Regions from separate parts of the Homo sapiens genome. Here region 1 is linked to region 2. The links are contacts of gene promoters, found by promoter capture Hi-C in human tissues and cell types (Jung and others, 2019). All regions are on one chromosome and are shown on one strand. The core of a region is centred on a gene start or on the middle of the fragment in contact, and the rest is flanking DNA. Distances in the headings are between cores, read along the strand shown.

Evidence for each region. The method cuts DNA at HindIII sites, captures the fragments that hold promoters and counts their contacts. A contact is called where the count stands out against the background at its distance.
Region 1: a fragment that was not itself captured here is called in contact with the fragment with the promoter of ZSCAN2 in region 2 in 1 of the 25 tissues and cell types used here (lymphoblastoid cells).

Annotation. Positions count from the first base shown.
Region 1 is chr15:85,701,812-85,704,535 of GRCh38, forward strand. The region is part of intron 17 of AKAP13 (A-kinase anchoring protein 13); the gene reads left to right. Among named protein-coding and RNA genes, the nearest start is that of LINC02883, 56 kb to the right of the region's middle. The HindIII fragment of the contact is 3,862 bases long and covers 1-2,724 here.
Region 2 is chr15:84,599,482-84,602,376 of GRCh38, forward strand. It overlaps ZSCAN2 (zinc finger and SCAN domain containing 2), which reads left to right and starts at 1,528. Exons shown (of 3, transcript NM_181877.4): 1 at 1,528-1,654. LOC105370947 (a long non-coding RNA gene) reads right to left here. Exons shown (of 4, transcript NR_186225.1): 4 at 1-322. RefSeq lists an enhancer at 1,376-1,425 and a silencer at 1,746-1,895. The HindIII fragment of the contact is 21,972 bases long and covers 1-2,895 here.

The DNA.
Region 1 (2,724 bases), core at 199-2,698, 1.1 Mb after region 2:
CCCTAATATGCACTAAGTTTCAAAAATACATTCTTTAATTTGCATACCACCCTACTCCAGAAGTAATGTAGAAATAGTCTCAACATCTGGTGATAGCATTAAGGTTTATGTAAGACAGTCTGCAGCCTGCCTCTTATAAAAAGAAGGGGGTAGGCCAGGCACGGTGGCTCACGCCTGTAATCCCAGCACTTTAGGAGGGCAAGGCAGGTGGATCACGAGATCAGGCGTTCAAGACCAGCCTGACCAACATGGTGAAACCCCGTCTCTACTAAAAATACAAAAAATTAGCTGGGCATGATGGTGGGCGCTTGTAATCCCCAGCTACTTGGGAGGCTGAGGCAGGAGAACTGCTCGAACCCGGGAGGCGGAGGTTACAGTCAGCCAAAGATCGCGCCATTGCACTTCAGCCTGGGTGACAGAGCAAGACTCACACACACACACACACACACACACACACACAAAAGGAGTGAAAAGGATTGAAAGCAACAAAATAGTATGTAGTCATCTTCTCAAAGGAACCAAAGTAATGGGCTGATTATCTTCAGCTTCCTGAAGAAGCTGAATGTTTGTATGTAGGAAGTCCCATGTGTTATCTTGGCAGGAAGTAGAAAATATGAGTAATTTGGGGACGCAGAATCTTTCGTCACTTCCCTCCATCGCGTCTCATGTCCAGGATCTTCCCAGGAGTCGTAGGAAATGTAGCATCCATGCAGTTAGTCGTTTACCTCCTAGGAAACCTTTGTGCTCTTAGGAGACAGTGGCTTCCCATTGTGGTTAAGTGTAACCCTGTTTGGCTGACCCCTGGATAGAGCTTCATACCCTCAGCACTGCATAGTCACCTTTGACTTGTGGTTAGAAAGATCAGCCATATAGTCCATCATGATGATATGTTATGATGGTTTATACAAGAAACTGGGACTTTTTATCTCAGCCAAAACGCTACTCTTGCTTTAGGATTAGGTGACTTTAACAGGGTTAATAGAGGAATGTCTTTTCAACTCTTATTTCTCTATTATGTAAAGCTGTCCTTGAATAGTCAGCTGTTCTTTCCAGCTGCCACAAATAATTTGTTCTTTGAAAAGCTTAGTGACTTAGTGGGGTCTTTCAGAATAAGGAATTTGTTATGTTCAGGTTTTGGGGTCTTGCCAGTGGTTCTGTTTTGCTTGCTTTAAACAGATGTAAAATGATACTGAGATTATTGCTGATTTATTTTCTGTTGTGCTAGCAGCATTTCAGTACTTTTGTGGTAGGTTGTTTCTTTTACATAAAAAATAAACAAGTAAACCAGCTGCAATCTAAGTAGGAAACATAAGAATTTAGAATGTGTGTGATGGTTAGATTTTACTTCTGATTTCATCAGAAAAGTTGCCCTCTAGACAGTTTTCTGGCATTTATAGTTCATTGCTTATATGAGAGAATAAAATACATATAGTTGATTAAAGGAAGGAAGTTTATTACTTAGGGAAAAGGAAGGTAAAAAAAGACCCTAAGCAATAAAGGCAATTCTTTTTTAAGCAGAATACTTTCATTTTATTTCATTTTTGTTTACCAGTGTTGTTACGAAAACTGCTGCTGGGGCTACTTCAGCTGAGATGATTTGGCTCTTTTTTGTGGCTTTCTTCTTGTTCTGTACATCAGCACTGTGGTTATTACACCAGCTACCAAGAACATCTCACATGCCTTTTGCATATAAGCACTCTTAGTCCAGATAGGGCGATGTCTCAAATCCCCCAAAGATTTTATTTATTGGCCAGGTGCCGTGGCTCACGCCTGTGATCCCAGCACTTTGGAAGGCTGAGGCGGGTGGATCACCTGAGGTTAGGAGTTTGAGACCAGCCTGGCCAACATGGCGAAATACCATCTCCACTAAAAATACAAAAAATTAGTCAGGCGTAGTGGCATGGACCGGTAATCCCAGCTACTCAGGAGGCTGAGACAGCAGAATCACCTGAACCCAGGAGGCAGAGGTTGCAGTGAGCCAAGATCGTACCACTGCACTCCAGCTTGGGTGACAGAGCAAGACTCCATCTCAAAAAAAAAAAATATATATATATATATATACACACACATATATTTAATAATTTTTTTTTGAGAGACAGGGTCTCTGTTAAAGATTTTAAACAAGAAGTTTAAAGTTGCAGAAAGAATTTTGTAGCATGCATTTCTAAATTTGCTCATATTTAACTGTTTTTTGTTTTATTTTCATTTTCTTGGTTAGAGTTGAAATGATAGGAGAAAGTTGTGCATTTCTATCCTTAAAGGTAATTCCTCAACTTGTGTCCTGGAGAAGAATCAGGTCATTTTTCCCAGTTAGATTTTGCTGCTCACATCTGTAGGCAGAACAGTCAGAAGTCTTCAGCCTATTCCCAAGTGATGATCAATGAACTGAAGTACTGGAAGACCTTTTTTGTCAGAGCCTTGGCTGCATATGACTCAGCTCCCAAAGGTGGCTCGTTTCTGTGTAGGCAGTCCTTTGATATTCTGTCATTTCATTTCAGTTTGGCATGGCCACTCCTCTTATCATTGTATAAAGTTGATTTTCTTAAGTTAGCCTCGCTAATGGTTTGTTTTATTTTTCTTCCGAAAGATAAAAAACACATAGTATATAACCATTCGCCAAAGATCTGTGGTGGTTGGTGGCATGGGTTAAAAAAAAGATACAGCAATAGATAGATGATAGTTTCCAGTCATGTGGGTTTAACTTCATTTTCTTTGGTTTGATGC
Region 2 (2,895 bases), core at 278-2,777:
GAGAAAGAGTAGCAACTGCTGTGACAAAGGGATAATTTTCTTAATATACAAAGAGCTCTTACAAATAAATCCAATTTAAAAATGGGAAAAGGACCGGGCACGTGGCTCATGCCTGTAATCTCAGCACTTTGGGAGGCCAAGACGGCTGGATCACCTGAGGTCAGGAATTCAAGACCAGCCTGATCAACATGGTGAAATCTCTGTCTCTACTAAAAACACGCAAAATTAGCCAGGTGTGGTGGCGCACGCCGGTAATCCCAGCTACTTGGGAGGCTGAGGCAGGAGAATCACTTGATCCGAGATCGTGTCACTGCACTCCAGCCTGGGCGACAGAGGAGGAAAAAAAAAAGCAGTCATTTCATTGCAGGTGCCTCCAGTAATTGCTCAGTGCAAACATACATAACTATTCTATCACAGACCATTAAGGGTGTCTCTCTCCATTTTTAGATTTTCCGCTTGAGTTTCCAGGTAGTTTCTCACCTGTTTTCAAGCAGGGTTGGGGCAGCCGTTTCTTCAACAGCGCCAGCCGTAAAACACAAAGATGGAGGCCAACCTCCCACACCCGGGCACCCTCCCTTCCCCCATACTGAGATTGACAAGTAAGCAACCCGGTGATCAGTACTAAAATGGAGACGTCAGCCAGGTGCGGTGGCTCACACCTGTAATTCCAGCACTTTGGGAGGCTGAGGAGGAAGGATCGCTTGAGCCCAGGGGTTCGAGGTCAGCCTGGGCAACATATGGAAACCCTGTCTCTATGAAATGTAGATCCTGTCTGTGAGTGTGTGTGTATAAATAAATATATATATATATATACAAATACATACATATATATATTTAAAAAATAAAATGGGGACGTCCAACACGTGTACTAGGGGCGGTGTCTCTGCCTGGGGAGGTGGTGATGACAGGGCAGGCTCCACCCAGGAGAAGCTGGAAGAATGGGAGTTCCGCGGCAGAGGAGGCGGGGCAGGGCGTTCCTCCAAACACAGGAATACCACGTGCGAAAACAAAGGGGTGTGCGAAGACCGGGTGCATGTGTACAGCTGCAAACTGGGGGAAAGGCGCCAGGCTTGGGCGATGAGGATTTGTTCCCCCATGGATTCCCTTCCTGCCCAGGGTCCGCTCTCGCCGGTCGAGGGTGCCTAACAATACTCCTTGCCACAAGGTTCGCAGCCGAAAAGGTCCTTCAAGTCCGGCCATCCAACTTTCACTTTTTATAGACAAATATACAGAGGCCTTAGATAAGTGAAACGGCTTGTCTCGGGTTACAGCTCTAGCCAACACAGGGTTTCTGACGGTCAGTCTGCGGATTTTCCTGCCTCTGGTCCGCAGGCACTGCCCAGGCTGTCAGCCCCAAACCCTACTCCGGGGACCGCGGTCAGGTTCGTCTCCGGGCGGACTACATCTCCCACAATGCCTTGGGCCCAGCCTCCCTCCTGCCGCCCGGCTGGGTGCCGTCTCCACCAACAGAAAGGCAGAATTTCCAGGGCCGTTCTCGGCAGCCAATGAGCGCGGCGGTGGGCGGGCCTCTCCCGTCCATTGTTCTCGGTGCCCCACGGGCTTGAGCCGGGGTGAATCTGGAGGGGCCGGGCCGAGCCCGGGGGCGCTTTCGCACGCGAAGCAACCGCTAGAGCAGGACCTGGTCTCCCGAGAGGTGAGCCGGAGAGGCAGGCCTGGAGCCACGCGGACCCCGGGCAGTAGCCCGAGGTGAGGGAATAGTGGGCCTGGAGCCAGCTGCCGGCAGCTCTGCTGGGGGAGGGGCGTCGGGGTCGCGCTCCGTATCCTGCGGGCCCTGCAGCCCCGATTTACGCGCCGGCTCCGCTCAGCGAACCGTCCCGGACGCGTCTCCCTGGCGGAGAGCTCCTTGCCTCTCCTACCGAGAAGCGCAGGCTTTGGACGGGAAGGGGCATTCGACGACATCCCGCGCAGCGTACACGTTTTACAGATGGGGAAACTGAGGTTCAGAGGGGGCGTGTCGTGCCCCAAGTCAGACCGCAAATTAGCTGACCTGGCACACTTTTCCCAGGCTCCCAAGTAGGAAGAGTTCTCTTACACCATATGCCAGTATTTCTTCTAGTCATTTGAGTAAATACACGTTGAGAGCTTCGGTTTTCCCACTAGCTTTTATTTTTTGTCCTTTTTTTTTTAAGCTTTTGTCAGCTTTTCTCCCCTTTTCATTGAGGGAGGGTTGTTAGTTGAGTCTTTATGATGTAGTAATGATTTTTTAAAAAATTTTTTTATTTTTGTAGAGACTGGGTCTCACTCTGTTGCCCAGGTTGGTCATGAACTCCCGGCCTCAAGCCATCTTCCCTCCTCGGCCTCCCAAAGTGCTGGAATTACAGGCGTGAGCTACAGCGCTTGGGCTAAAAATAATTTTGTATTGCTTTTATAATATTTTAAGTCGTTTGCAATTCCACTGCTTTCAATATTTTGTAGGTGCCGTCCCGTTCTTTTTTCCTGTGAGTTCATTTTTTTTTTTTTTTTTTTTTGAGACGGAGTTTTGCTTTTGTTGCCCAGGCTGGAGTGCAATGGCCTGATCTCCGCTCACCGCATCCTCTGCCTCCCGGGTTCAAGCGATTCTCCTGCCTCAGCCTCCGGAGTAGCTGGGATTACGGGCATGCGCCACCACGCCTGGCTAATTTTGTTTTTAGTAGAGACGAGGTTTCTCCGTGTTGGTCAGGCTGGTCTCGATCTTCCGACCTCAGGTGATCCGCCCGCCTCAACCTGCCAAAGTGCTAGGATTACAGGTCTGAGCCACCGCGCCCGGCTGTGAGTTCATTTTTAAAGGGAATTGAGGACTTACTGTGTCTATGGTTTTTCTGCCCTGCTGATTTTGTGTTTATCCATTATTTTCCTATCAGAAGGATTATCTTAAATCATTAATGATTAATCTTT